2 separate regions of the Homo sapiens genome follow, and region 1 is linked to region 2. The links are contacts of gene promoters, found by promoter capture Hi-C in human tissues and cell types (Jung and others, 2019). All regions are on one chromosome and are shown on one strand. The core of a region is centred on a gene start or on the middle of the fragment in contact, and the rest is flanking DNA. Distances in the headings are between cores, read along the strand shown. Region 1 has its middle 74 kb from the start of ICE1. Region 2 holds the start of ADAMTS16 (ADAM metallopeptidase with thrombospondin type 1 motif 16).

Region 1 (7,376 bases), core at 332-2,831, 350 kb after region 2:
CTTTCCTCTCTTGCTTGCTTCCATCTACCTGACGCTTTCTCAAGGAAATTCAGAGTGCATAATTGTGAAACAAGAAGTTCATTTTCTTGCCCCTCCAAGGGGAATTTTGAGGAATTAAAGCGCCCTCACTGTATTGTAGTCAGTTTGTTTTGCACAACGAAATAGGTTCTGATGACAGAGGCAAAAACAGAAGTGTGAGTGAAGAGCCATAAAAATGATATAATTCAGTTTTCTATGAAAATGAATGCTTTTGCTTGCTTTCATGAAGAACTTTGTGTTTTTGTGAAGGACGTTAGTACCTTGGAATGCCTTGGCTCAGGCCACCTTGTCTTCCAAAGCACACAAGATGTGTCTCATCAGGGTGTCAAGGTGCCAGCGTTCACCCTGGAGCCCAGCTCTCATCAGCCATTCTCTTAACTGCACCTTTCGCGGGGCCTGTCGGCAGTGGGGAGCCTAAATCACACCTGGCTTCTTAGGACTGGAGATTCTAGAGCTTCACCCAAAACCCTTGAGTTTGAAACTCCGGGGGTGCCTCCCGGTGACATGGATGCCCCCAGCAGTTGGGTAGACACTGCCCAGTAAGTTCTCTGAGCATTGCGGCCTGCTCTGTTCTGCACCCGAGGTCTGCTCACCCTCCCCCTGCCTGAGCGGCCTCTGCCTTCTCAGCTGCTTTCTGTCTTCAGAGGGTCACAGCTCTGGTCTCTAGATGGCTTTCCCCACCGTCCCATCCCTTGATCCATTTCCATGGAAATTTGGAAAGAGGAGAAGGTAAGCTGTTCACTGCCTTCCACCACCTTGAACTGAATCCAGTCCCTAGCTGGTTTTGTTTTTAATTTTTCCCATAGTCTTTAAGAATATTACTTTTTCCTTAACAGTCATCAATTGCTGCTCTGAGATAACCTCACCCTAAATTACGAGTACACAACTGAAAAACTCAAAAGGGAAGGCGAGGAGCTGAGAATGTAAACCCTCAACTACCAGACCTTCCACAGCCATAAACGGACCCTCCTAGGTATTGTTTCTCTGTATTAATTATTGTTATACTATATCCATTTTAATAGTTTCACTTGTAATGCAATATATACTATTCTTGAATAGCCTCCTCTTGCCTGTGTATTATTGTATGCATATAGCAAATTAAACATTGAAACGGGTCGGCACTGGAATGCCCTCTCCCTGTCGCCCAGGCCCTGTTCTCCCGGGGCTGCACTGACTGGCGGGTCTTTGGCTGCCCTCGCAGAGATGCCCGGGCAGATGGAGGTCTCAGGGCTGAGGACACCGCCTTCGTAGCCCCGCCCTGGCGGCCCCGCCCGTAGCCTGAGGCCCTGAGGCCCAGCGGCCCCGCCCCCGCAGCTCCGCCCCCGCAGCCCCGCCCCTGCAATCCTGGTACCCGAAGCTGCGAACCCGCAGCGCAGGCCCAGCCTCCGCAGCGCCATCTCTGCAGCCCAGTCTCTGCAGCCCCGCCCCCGCAGCCCCACCTCCGAACCCACAGCCCCGCCTCCGACTCTGCAACCCCGCCCCGCAGGCCTGCCGGCAGGTGCCTAACAGTGACCTCGCCGTGCTGCACTCCCTGCGCGTTGGTCACTTACAGTCGTCGCAGAGGTGGATAAAACTTGAGGTGCCTCCTTCTGCCCTCTTCAGCTACTTATTCCTGCCAGTGCATACTCCGGCCCTGTGCGTGCGCTTCCACTGGGGAAGTTGTCCCCTGGGGTGGAAGGGTCGAGGCCTCCGTGGGCTTCGGGTTACTTGGGGAAGCTCGTGACCCTTGGAAGCGAAGCTGCTGGGCAGGCTGCGGGAAGGCTCGCTGGCGCGGGGCTTAGGATTTGGGATGCAGGAGCTTCCTCTAGGGGTGCGCCTCCTGGCTCGCCGCCAGGGACCGGGCGCTGTCAGGCCTGAGGCCCCTGTGCCCCAGATCCTCCACGGCGGCTGTGCTGGAACCCCACACTTGCTGGACGTGTGTGCCGGGATCCCCGAGTCCAAGCCAACACCAGCGAGATTCTTAAAACTATCCTTGGTAAAAATGTAGCAAAACCTCAAATAAAGTAAACATTTTGATTTTTGAATAATAGTCACATTTAGAATATTGCAACAGTTTTGTAAGAAAATAACACCTTGAAATGTTTCAGGAGTTGGACTTCAGAGGCAAAAGCATGTTTGCGATGAGGTAACCTGTCTCGGTGTCTTTGCATCCTGCTGTGCCCCACCGTGTTTTGAAAGAGGGTTGCAGAGTCACTGACCCTGTGGGATGGCCAAACTGCACATGCCCAGCGCTCTGCCCGCCCCAGGGCACCTCTCCCACCTGCCAAGGAACCTGCTCCCACCCTGACCACTCGCAGATAATCCAAGACTCACTATATCTTAATGGAAAACCACAGTCACATTGGCAAATGTTTGGACAACCCGAATCTGACCTCCAGAAAGGAGAGCCCCGCGCACCCCCTGCTCAGGAAGACTTGGCTGTGCGAGTGAAAGTGTGCAGCTGTGAGGAGAAAGCCCTTCCTGGCCTGTTGCCCTGTATTTTCTGACCACTACGTTTCCTTTGGTTAAAAAAAAAAAAAAAGTCTCTGGAGAAAGATGATAGAGTCCTTTATTAAAAGGCATTTAGCCTACAGGAATGTCTTCTGCTAAATGAGGTTCTCTGTCAGCCCTACAGCTGCCTCAGACATAAAAAAGGTGTATGGGGAAAGCTCCAGGGTCCTGAGCCTATCGAACAGGTGATCCTGAGCCACCCCAGCCATTCCAGGACGCTCCCATTAGTCACTCAGAAGCTGTTCATAAGCTTCTCTTTCAAATCACCCCTCGTGTCCCGGGAAGAAGGGGAAATGGTCTACAAGGCGGAAGAACCTACAAATTGTAGGATGTTTACTTAATCCAGGGCCTTGTTAGTGTGGAAACACATCTGTAAATGCAGAATTGAGCTCACAATGCCCTGGCAGCAGCGATGCTCTTTAGAGCTGTGTCGCTGTGTTCCAGGAGACATGTGTTCGCCAAGGAGGAGAAAACCAAACAGGACCCTGTGCCTACCTTAAAATGCGAAAGTGCTTTATGAAACAATGAGCTTCTCTTGCAGGTCATTCTCCAGAATGCCAATTACATACTTATTCTTCCTGCTTGAGAAACGGGAAACATATTCCGTTGTCCAGGAGAGCCATCTGCATTGTGGTTGCTGCACCTTCATGGAAGGAGGGAAATTGTGACTTGCAGTCGAAGCCGAGGGTTCCAACAACTTTTGTTCTGAATTTCTGTAACGGAGGGCCATCCTTTATTTGCATGTTGAAAATCTGTTTGTTAAGTCTGCAGTGGAGCAGAAAATAGAATTTTTAAAGCACTCTCTCCTGACCTTTTCTATTTCGTATTTTTTAAGAGACAGAAATTTAACCCCTATCACATTGGCAATCATCCGGAATAATGTTTTAAATGCATCTTTGTGTTTGTAAAACTTGCTTCGAGATGAGAAAGTAAGTTTTCTGGATTTTGACGCAGTTTTGAAGTGCAGCATGTTAATTTCTAAATAGAAGCACTGGCATTGGATAAACTAAAGTAACGTGAATATAATTCTAGGAACTATAAGCTTACTTTCCTTATTTCTGGCTTTCTTTAGCTCTACGTATCTATTTTTTAATGCACTTAAGAAAAAAGCTATGCAATTGTGAAGGGTTTTTTTTATTATTATTATTCACAGGTTGAGGTTCATTTTGTCTTTCATCTGACAATTCTTTTCATTTAAATTCCACAATATGCCCGAGTGAGCAAAGAGAAAGGAGTCAGGGAGACAGAAATCTTCAAACTAAAACAAACAAACAAACAAAAAACATGCTATGCCTGGCTTCCCAAGCTGATTTTTTGGTTACTGTTATTACTAACCCCATACAAGTGTTTTTAGTGGGAAATAATGTTGATTCAGTTCCCCGGCTCTGGTGCCCACGTGAGCCCTGCAGCCGCCTGTCCTCCCCAGCAGGGAGAGCTCTGCGCTTTGATCATGAACCCTGGCTCTCAAAACGGTTCTTTCATATGGAAGCTCTCCTTCTTCAGACCAAGAACAGGCTTAGGAAAGAAAAGAAACAAAAGGCGTATTTCAAATCCACCCAATGCCATCTTTTTTCAAACATGTTCCTCATGTATATTTCAAAGGGGCCGTTTCCACAGAAGCAAAGACTGCATGAGCCAGTGGCGGCAACGCTTCTAAAGCGCTTGAGAGGGAACTTCCAATAAAGAGCTTTACAGACAGCATTGAGAAATTAGATACTTTTCGAATATTGCAACAGTTTTGTAAGAAAATAACACCTTGGAATGTTTCAGGAGTTGGAGTTCAGAGGCAAAAGCATGTTTGCGATGAAGTAATCTGTCTCTGTGTCTTTGCATCCTGCTGTGCCCCACCGTGTTTTGAAGGAGGGTTGCAGAGTCACTGACCCTGTGGGATGGCCAAACTGCACATGCCCAGCGCTCTGCCCGCCCCAGGGCACCTCTCCCACCTGCCAAGGAACCTGCTCCCACCCTGACCACTCGCAGATAATCCAAGACTCACTATATCTTAATGGAAAACCACAGTCACATTGGCAAATGTTTGGACAACCCGAATCTGACCTCCAGAAAGGAGAGCCCTGCGCACCCCCTGCTCAGGAAGACTTGGTTGTGCGAGTGAAAGTGTGCAGCTGTGAGGAGAAAGCCCTTCCTGGCCTGTTGCCCTGTGTTTTCTGACCACTACGTTTCCTTTGGTTAAAAAAAAAAAAAAAAAAGTCTCTGGGGAAAGATGATAGAGTCCTTTATTAAAAGGCATTTAGCCTACAGGAATGTCTGTATTATTGTGATAGTGATTATTAAAAAATAATCGCAATATAACTTGCCTGGAATTGTTGTTGTTAAAAAGGGTTAGGAATACTTGCATGTCTTTCAGATCGAGGTGGAAAGGGGAGCACCTATAGTTTCTCATGGCTTCATGGGGCTCCTTGCACCCCTGGTAATTGTCTTTTGTCTTGGTGTAGCAATTATGAAACAAGACAAGTGTATCATAAATCATATTTTTATAAGAGTCATCCCCAAATTTTTGGTAGGGCTTAAAACTTTTTTTCGACACAAAATACAGTGCCCCCAAGAAATGTCCATTCAGATAATGAGAATTTGACCTCACAAGACATTTCCGCTCAAAAGACATTTCTTGGGCTGGGTGCGGTGGCTCACGCCTGTAATCCCAGCACTTTGGGAGGCTGAGGCAGGATCACCTGAGGTCAGGAGTTTGAGACCAGCCTGACCAACATGGTGAAACCCGTCTCTACTAAAAATATGAAAAAGTAGCCAGGCGTGGTGGTGCATGCCTGTAACCTCAGCTACTCAGGGGGCTGAGGCAGGAGAATTGCTTGAACCTGGGAGGTGGAGGTTGCAGTGAGCCAAGATTATGCCACTGCACTCCAGCCTGGGCAACACAGCAAGACTCTGTCTCAAAAAAACAACAAACAAGCAAAACACACACAGAAAAAAGACATTTCTTTGCATTAACAAAACCGCACTGCATTTTGTTATTCTGGCAAGGTCCTGGTGGTTTGTTAGTTTATAGAATTAGCAGTCTTTCACTATTGAGATGAAGTAATTTTGATCGCTTTCTTTTGCCTTTATCTTTGATTTTCATTTTGTTTTATGGGGATGGAATGGGCAGGGATTTACATGAAATTTTCAAGTTTAAACATAGATATTACAATATTGTTAATTATTGAAGTAATTTCATGCCACTAATTTTAACTAATTAGGCATTACAAAAATCTTTGCTTGATAAAGAGTTTTTCAGAACTAACTTGGTTTTTCTTTTAAACCAAGGAATACTCAATCTCTGTCTTCCTTAGAACATGCTTGAAAATCAGATATTACTATCATTGTATCTGCTTCTAAAGCTGAGGCACAGGCAGGCTAAGTGACCTTAACATCAATGAAAATGTGGACTTGTGAAAAGCACGAAGCAGATTCTCTAAACCTGCCTGCTGATTCCAATATCCTCATGAAGTACCCAATGGCCTAAGATAAAATGTGTTTCCTCTCCCCCAGACCCTGTGTTTTCACCATCTTAAGCTGGGGAAAGAAACGACAAAAAGTGGCAGAAAGATTAGACTTGGTTTATAGTCATTTCCATCATCTCTTGGAAGAAGAAAGATGCTGGTTACCTTGGGCCTGTAGAGCAGGTCCCGGGAATTGACCACATGAGGCACATTTGTGCGTGGAAAGCAAAAGCAGTGTGTTTTCGGCTGCCTGGGGACCTGGGCACCAGGCACAGTGCTCAGAGCAGCCATCCCGAGGCAGATTTCACCGTGCACAGCCTATGGCATAAGAGCCATGCTGCAAGAGCCGGTGAGTGGCAGACAGAAGTTGCAAACTAGGTCTCTCTGCCTGTTCTCTGGAGCCTGCCTTTTTCCTGGGTGCATTGCCCCTTCTCACTGCCATATTGTATGCATTCATATGTGAGGTTCTTCTTTTTCTGCAAGAAAAAAGAACAAAACACATTAAGGATTTCAAGATTATATCCACCTTATTCAATAGATTTTACCCCAGATAATTTCACAACCTTTTTATATAATTCCAGATTTGATTAAACACTTCCCTTCTCAGTTCTGAAACTTGCATGGACTTAGTCAACCAAAATGTTTTCTCACAAAAACCTCAAAGAACAGTTAACACACACAATTTCTAGTGGTCATGTAAAAAGATAGTAATATATATATTTCTACCTATTGATTCATTTAAAATTAGAAATAATTGCTAAGCATTTTGAGAAAATAATTAGGACTAGTTTGAAGTTTAATTTGGGTAGAAGTCAGTTTGCAGGAATGATACATTTACTTTTAAATTTAGTCATATCCATATTCAGGTCAACATTTACAGTGACCAAAATAAAGACTAATATAAAAATCATTTTAAGAGAATATTTTTAAAACAGAATATTTTTACAGTTGCAATGGACCAGCGTCCTGAGGAAGGAGCAGGCTTCCCCTGTTGATGCTCTGCAAGGTAGACCTGCAGAGGACTGCCTGGCTCCCTTGTCTAAGAAGGGCAAACATCTTCACCTCTCTTAGATGAAGCCTGAAATGTGCTTTAAATCCATAATCCCTGGGTACTCCTGGAAACCACAAACCTGCCCACTCATTGTCAGTAGAGCCCAGTAGAAGTCAAAAATAAAGAGGGGGTTTCTGCAGAATTGTAGACTAATAGCATGATTAAGATGCTGACTAAAATATATATATATTTAACTTTTATATTTTGAGATGAAGTCTCACTCTGTCACCCAGGCTGGAGTGCAGTGGTGCGATCTCAGCTCACTGCAATCTCTGCTTCCCGGGTTCAAGCGATTCCCCTGCCTCAGTCTCCTGAGTAGCTGGGACTACAGGTGCCTGCCA
Region 2 (6,675 bases), core at 170-2,669:
CCCGCCTCGGCCTCCCAAAGTGCTGGGATTACAGGCGTGAGCCACCGCGCCCGGCCTACTGCTCACTCTTTGGGTCCACTCTGCTTTCATGAGCTGTAACACTCACCGTGAAGATCTGCAGCTTCACTCCTGAGCCCAGCGAGACCACGAGCCCACCGGGAAGAACGAACAACTCCAGAGGCTCTGCCTTAAGAGCTGTAACACTCACCGCCTAGGTCTGCAGCTTCAATCCTGAGCCAGCGAGACCACGAACCCACCAGAAGGAAGAAACTCCGAACACATCTGAACATCAGAAGTAACAAACTCCAGACGCACCACCTTAAGAGCTGTACCCACTCACCGCGAGGGTATGCGGCTTCATTCTTGAAGTCAGTGAGACCAAGAACCCACCAATTCCAGACACACTATGGGCTCACAGCGTGTACTCGCGCACACGCAGTCAGGTGTGGATGTACACCCGCGCACACCCAGGCACATGTACACCCGCGCGCTCACACACCCCATCCAGCTACAGCAGAATTCTGGCCAGGCTGTTGACCGCACACCTGCTGCCTCCTTGGCCACCCTGTCCACACAGTAGCCCGATCGACCCCCGTGGCGGCCGAGACCCAGGCCCATCCGCAGCCCTGAGACCTCCCTAGGGATTGCACCCAGCAGCCAGTCACCGGCCTCCGCGGCCTGGCCAGTTGAGGGTGGCCGTGACCGCGGGGCCAGGAGCGCCGCCACATCTCGGGGCAAATGGCGCGGGGGAAGAGTTTCCTCCTCAGCCTCCCCGTCTCCGATCGCTCCGCAAACTCCAGAGCGAGGCACGCGCCTTTAAAGGCAGGTCCGCGGCTCTCCCACGTCCTGGCGCCCGGTTTTCCGCACCCAGTGTCCCCACAGCTGTGCCCGGGCACAGAGGCGCGGCCAGACCGCACTCCGCGGGCTGCAGGTGTCCCGGCCTCTGGCGGCGCCGGTGCGGCCCGGAGGTGGGAGCCCGCGGAGCCACTGCAGTAGCTGGAGTCCCGCCGAGTCCCCAGCCCCAAGGCAGGGCAGGAGCGCGCACCGGCCGGAGGTCCATGCTGAGCATCGCCCGCGCCGGTGCCCGGCAGCCTCTCCAACTGTGTGGTCCCCGCGCGGGCAGAGAGGCACGGACTGCAGGCCGTGGGCAGCTCCATCTTCCCGCGTCCTCCTCCTCTGGCGCTGCCCGCTGTCTCCCGCCTTCCCTCTGCTCCCCGCTCGCCTCCGCCTCAGCGCCCCGCTGACCTCGCCTCCTCCCCTCTGCTCTTTGTCCCTGCACTCTCCCCTCCTCGGTCCTCTGACCCCCCCGCCCTCACCTCCTCCCCTCCTCTCTCCCCTGCCCGCCCCGCGCTCTCCCACCGCTCCCGCCGCCCCCGCCGCCGCGGCTGCCACTCCGCCCCCCGCGCCGCACGGAGCTTCAGTAATAACCCCGGCGCGGCGGCGGAGTCGCTGTGGGGAATCCTCCCGCGCTCTGCCTGGGTCGGGTCCTCCCTGCCCGCTCGCACGCTGCCGGCCGGGGACCCTCCGGTGGCCCCTAGCCCCTCGGAGCGCTCCTGGATGAAGCCCCGCGCGCGCGGATGGCGGGGCTTGGCGGCGCTGTGGATGCTGTTGGCGCAGGTGGCCGAGCAGGTGAGTCCCGGGCGCTCCCACCAGCGCGGAAACCGCGGGTCCGGACAGCTGGAGGCGAGTCCCCCGCGGCTCCTCTCCCGCGGACCCCGCCGTCTCACCGCGATGTCGCCGCTGTTTTCCGCAGGCACCTGCGTGCGCCATGGGACCCGCAGCGGCAGCGCCTGGGAGCCCGAGCGTCCCGCGTCCTCCTCCACCCGCGGAGCGGCCGGGCTGGATGGAAAAGGGCGGTAAGTCCGTGAGGTGGGGGCTTCTAATCCTTGCCATTTAGCAGCTCGTAATCTCCGTGCCGCTGGTTTATTAGGTGCTGTGAATGTTCACGACTCTGTGGAACCCTACTTTTAAGATGCTGTTGTGAACTTTTTTTTTTTTTAACTGTATGAGCGAGCCCCGATGAGTGGATTTCCACCAATATTTACATTTTATTCCCTGGCAAAACGGTTTGCCAGAGTTATTGATATAACATTAGGAAAAAGGTGAGGAAGTTCATTTTATTTTATTCTAAAGAGCTTAGGAAGAATCTAAAGCTATTAATGTATGCATCAAAGCCGTCATAAAGAGCAAATTACTTTCTTTTCCGTCCCCTTCTACATCCTCGGATCCTCCTTCCCGTCCCCAACCTTTCCTCCTTCTCCTCCTTTATAGATTAAAATATTCCTCTATCGTTGCTTATTCTCAGTGAAGGAGATAAAAGAAGCGCTTAGCATCTCAATACCAAAGTTAATGCTCCAACAATCAGGGCGTACTTCAAACATAATAGTGCCTGAAATGGCTAATCAGCTGATTGTGACACCATCAGCAACGTTCATATCCTGGGCCACAATTTGACATGAGGGCAAGTCTTATTCTTTTTCAATGCATGCTTTTACTTCTGCCACTTACAAGTGACATTTGGAAATTTGCTGTCTTATGGAAAGGGATCTCTGTGTCTTCATACTGCATCAGGTAAATGAGAACGCAGGTGTGTCGCACTGGTTGCTAGGTGGTTTTTTAACCTGAACCCATCCAATGACAGTTAATAAATATTATTTTGCATTGTTACCAACAATAAATTGCCGTATCAAATGTTAATATTAATTGACTTTTATAGGAAGAACTAGGTTTCATTCTCTCAATGTATTTCCAGAAGATCTAGAAAATTAAAGTTAACAATTCAGAATTTCTCAGTATAGTTATTTCAATTTGATAAAATAACATAAAGGCAAGCACTTAATATATGCATTAACTTTTGAAATTATTCCCTGCCAAATGAGTACACAAATAGTATATAAGGTGACCGGTGTCAGATTGACGCTCACCATAGTACCTTTTTGAGAACCACCAGGGGGCGCTAGGTGCAAATGATATAAAATGTTAAAAAAAATTGTCACAGTGAATTTACAAGAGAAAGTTAATTATCTGTCCATTTACAGACTATCCTCTTGTGGTTGTCCTTGTCCTTTTTAGGGTTTTGCTTACAATACTAAAAGTTAATTCTTACAATTTTAAAGGTTAATTCTAATTCACCTTTTTAAGTAAGATTTTTGTAAAAAAAAAAAAAAAAATTCTAGTTCCCTAAAACCATGAAAATTCCAGAGGGACTCAGGAGATTTCCACAATAGTTTATGGCATTTATGAAGTTTTATTTAAGATAAAACACATTATAGACACAGAAGAAAGAAGAAGAAAAGCCAGGGCTTCGTGCCTAAGTGTGCTTTTCTCCTAAAGTGATTCAATCTGCTTCAGCATCCTCTCTGGGAGTGGGGTGCCAGTGTGCTGCTCTGAACACCTGGCACCACAGTTGTTGTCACAACGTATCGTCTCCATGACAACCACTTATCTGGCTTGGTAAGAACCTGAAGGGGAAGAGGCAAACCCTTCTTAGTGAAGTTCTAGCCCAGTGGACACAGCACACACCCTCCTCCCCTACCTTCTATGCACTTTAGCTCCTTAATTATAAATGGCTAATGTGTGAGTCTGGACATCCACAACAAGCTTTTATGCCACCAGAGAAAAGATCCTCCTCAACAGTGTTGCCTGTTTCCCTCTGACCTGGAGCAGAAGAGCTAGAAGACACTTGGTGACTGCTGGGGTCAACTTACTGTTGCCTGTCTAGGTATCCATTAGACAAGTTGGTTCTGAAATAACTAATTGTAGCCATACATTTTGTTTAAAGTAGCGCATGACTCAAACTATTATTGCAAATCATTCTTGGTGGCTGAAGTAATTACAAAATAGCAAAGAGAACAAAGCTGGAGGTGTCACACACTACCTACCTGACTTCAAACTATGCTACAAGGCTACAGTAACCAAAAAAGCATGGTACTGGTACCAAAACAGATATATAGATCAATAGAACAGAACAGAGACCTCAGAAATAACACCACGCATCTACAACCACCTGATCTTTGGCACATCTGACAAAAACAAGCAATGGGGAAAGGATTCCCTATTTAATAAATGGTGCTGGGAAAGCTGGCTAGCCATATGAAGAAAACCGAAACTGGACCCTTCCTTACACCTTATACAGAATCTAACTCAAGGTGGATTAACTATTTAAATGTTAAAACCTAAAACCAAAAGCAATTGCAACAAAGCCAAAACTGACAAATAAGATCTAATTAAACTAAAGAGCTTCTGCACAGCAAAAGAAACTATCATCAGAGTGAACAGGCAACCTAGAGAATGAGAGAAAATTGTTGTAATCTATCCATCTGACAATGGGCTAATATCCAGAATCTACAAGAAACTTAAACAAATTTAGAAGAAAAAAACAAACAACCCCATCAAAAAATGGGTGAAGTATATGAACAGACAATTTTCAAAAGAAGACATTTATGCGGCCAACAAACATATGAAAAAAACCTCATCATCATTGGTCATTAGAGAAATGCAAATCAAAACAACAACGAGATACCATCTCACGCCATTTAGAATGGCAATCTTTAAAAAGTCAGAAAACAACAGATTCTGGAGAGGATGTGGAGAAATAGGAACACTTTTACACAGTTGGTGGGAGTGTAAATTAGTTCAACCATTGTGGAAGACAGTGTGGCGATTCCTCAAGGATCTAGAACAAGAAATACCATTTGACCCAGCAATCCCATTACTGGGTATATACCCAGAGAATTATAAATCATTCTACTATTAAGACACATGCACACATATGTTTAGTGAAGCACTATTCACAATAGCAAAGACTTGGAACCAACCCAAATGCCCGTCAATGAGAGACTGGATAAAGAAAATGTGGCACATATACACCATGGAATTCTATGCAGCCATAAAAAAAGAATGAGTTCATGTCATTTGCAGGGACATGGATGAAGCTGGAAACCATCGTTCTCAGCAAACTAACACAGGAACAGAAAACCAAACACTGCATGTTCTCACTCGTAAGTGGGAGTTGAACACTGAGAACATATGGGCACAGGGAAAGGAACATCACACACCGGGCTTGTTGGGGGGTGAGGGGCAAGGGGAGGGATAGCATTAGAAATACCTAATGTAGATGGCAGGTTGATGGGTGCAGCAAACCACCATGATACATGTATACCTATGTAACAAACCTGTACGTTCTACACATGTATCCCAGAACTTAAATTATAACAAAAAAAAAATCAATGGTCACATGCTCACTAGCGAACATAATAACAATGCAGAGAATATAAAATAGAATTGTGCTAGTTTCTCTTCCTACCCCCCTCTGCCTTTACTATTTGCCTTCTGCATTTTGTCCAGATAATCTACAAGAATTTACTTATTGCCCTGTGTTCCTTACAGGCTACACTTTTTTTCCTTTAAAAGGTCACTTTGGCTTCAGAGCTTACAACGTACTTTGAAAGCTCATTATTTGATCAACTTTGCCTCATGTGGTGAAATAATATTTTAGATTTCATTCTTTTAGAGTATATTTTTACAAGCTTTAAGGTATTCCTTTCTATAGCTTTATGGTAATTTAGTTACCAATTATCCGTTGTTGATTATTGTTTAAAATTTTACCTCATTACAAATAATACTTCCATGAAAATATTTACATAAACTTTTTAAAATTCGTCTGGGATTATTTCCTCAGGGTGATTTCCCAGGTCAAAGTATTTTGCAACTCATTGCCAAAGCCGACTTTAGGAGGGTAGTGTCATTTTTATTTCCTGATATCAGCAGCGTTTGAAAGAGGTGGCCGGTGGTGGACTGATTTTTTGTTAATGCGATTGATTTCTATTTAGAAGGCTATACATCTCCTGCCACCTGTCCCACCCTTCTGTCTCTGTTTTCTGGATTCTCCTTCCCTGCTATCCTCTTAGGGTGCTCGTGAACATTCCTCTGCTCTTAGAGAGTTACAGGCTCTGTCTTTGAGTCTGGAGCAAGCTGCAGTCAGGTGCCATCTAAGCAGCCAACTGTGGAAAGAGTGGGAAGGGTGGAGCCCGTGGGAGATGCTCCTGTTGGGTGGGCGAGGCATGGAGCTCTGTCCGTCTCCCCCAGCCTTTTGGAATTGAGCTCTCCGAAAACAACTGGGGCCTCACGGGAGCCTTGCAGGGCTTCTTGGAGTTCAGTTTGCCTGAACGCGGAGATTATGAGCCTACCACTTATATATATGAGTTTTTAGATAGGACAAACTTTTCCTCTTGCAAGATTATTGTGTTTGAAGTCTTTCAAATACGTCTTTCCCATTTATGGAAAAAATACTGTATTAATAAAGACACCAAATCACTGTGAGAATAATTAAAATACATACATTTACAGTGAAATTAATTATATTAAAAACATTGCAATACTCAAAGCTCATCATTTCATAATTATTTCACTATATTTGATAATAATCTAGGCTCTTGAGGCCACTGGCCTCTTTTGCATCTGTATGGTAGAAATATCACACACTGGGGGCTGCTGCGTATCTCTGTGCACTGAATATTCAGTGATGGCACAGCAGTCATTGAAATCAGCCATGAGGGGAAGATTTACACCAGGGAAATTGGCAAATGCCAAAATCCAGGTCGTTCTTCTCCAGACAGCGGGTTGTTGAATGTTTATTACCACAGCATTGTGTTTATGTAAACATGGCTTACCAGT

What was found. Contacts are between HindIII fragments. The study calls those that stand out against the background at their distance.
Region 1: a fragment that was not itself captured here is called in contact with the fragment with the promoter of ADAMTS16 in region 2 in 1 of the 25 tissues and cell types used here (heart right ventricle).

The regions. Positions count from the first base shown.
Region 1 is chr5:5,493,382-5,500,757 of GRCh38, forward strand. No RefSeq gene overlaps it. Among named protein-coding and RNA genes, the nearest start is that of ICE1, 74 kb to the left of the region's middle. RefSeq lists silencers at 1,402-1,451, 1,492-1,571 and enhancers at 3,912-4,436, 4,437-4,959. The HindIII fragment of the contact is 3,187 bases long and covers 1-3,175 here.
Region 2 is chr5:5,138,911-5,145,585 of GRCh38, forward strand. ADAMTS16 (ADAM metallopeptidase with thrombospondin type 1 motif 16) reads left to right here and starts at 1,420. Exons shown (of 23, transcript NM_139056.4): 1 at 1,420-1,629; 2 at 1,754-1,856. The coding sequence starts at 1,558. ADAMTS16-DT (ADAMTS16 divergent transcript) reads right to left here and starts at 1,144. Exons shown (of 4, transcript NR_109915.1): 1 at 1,046-1,144. It overlaps ADAMTS16-AS1 (ADAMTS16 antisense RNA 1), which reads right to left. Exons shown (of 2, transcript NR_198969.1): 2 at 3,228-3,461. RefSeq lists enhancers at 626-1,192, 6,552-6,675. The HindIII fragment of the contact is 9,507 bases long and covers 1-4,564 here.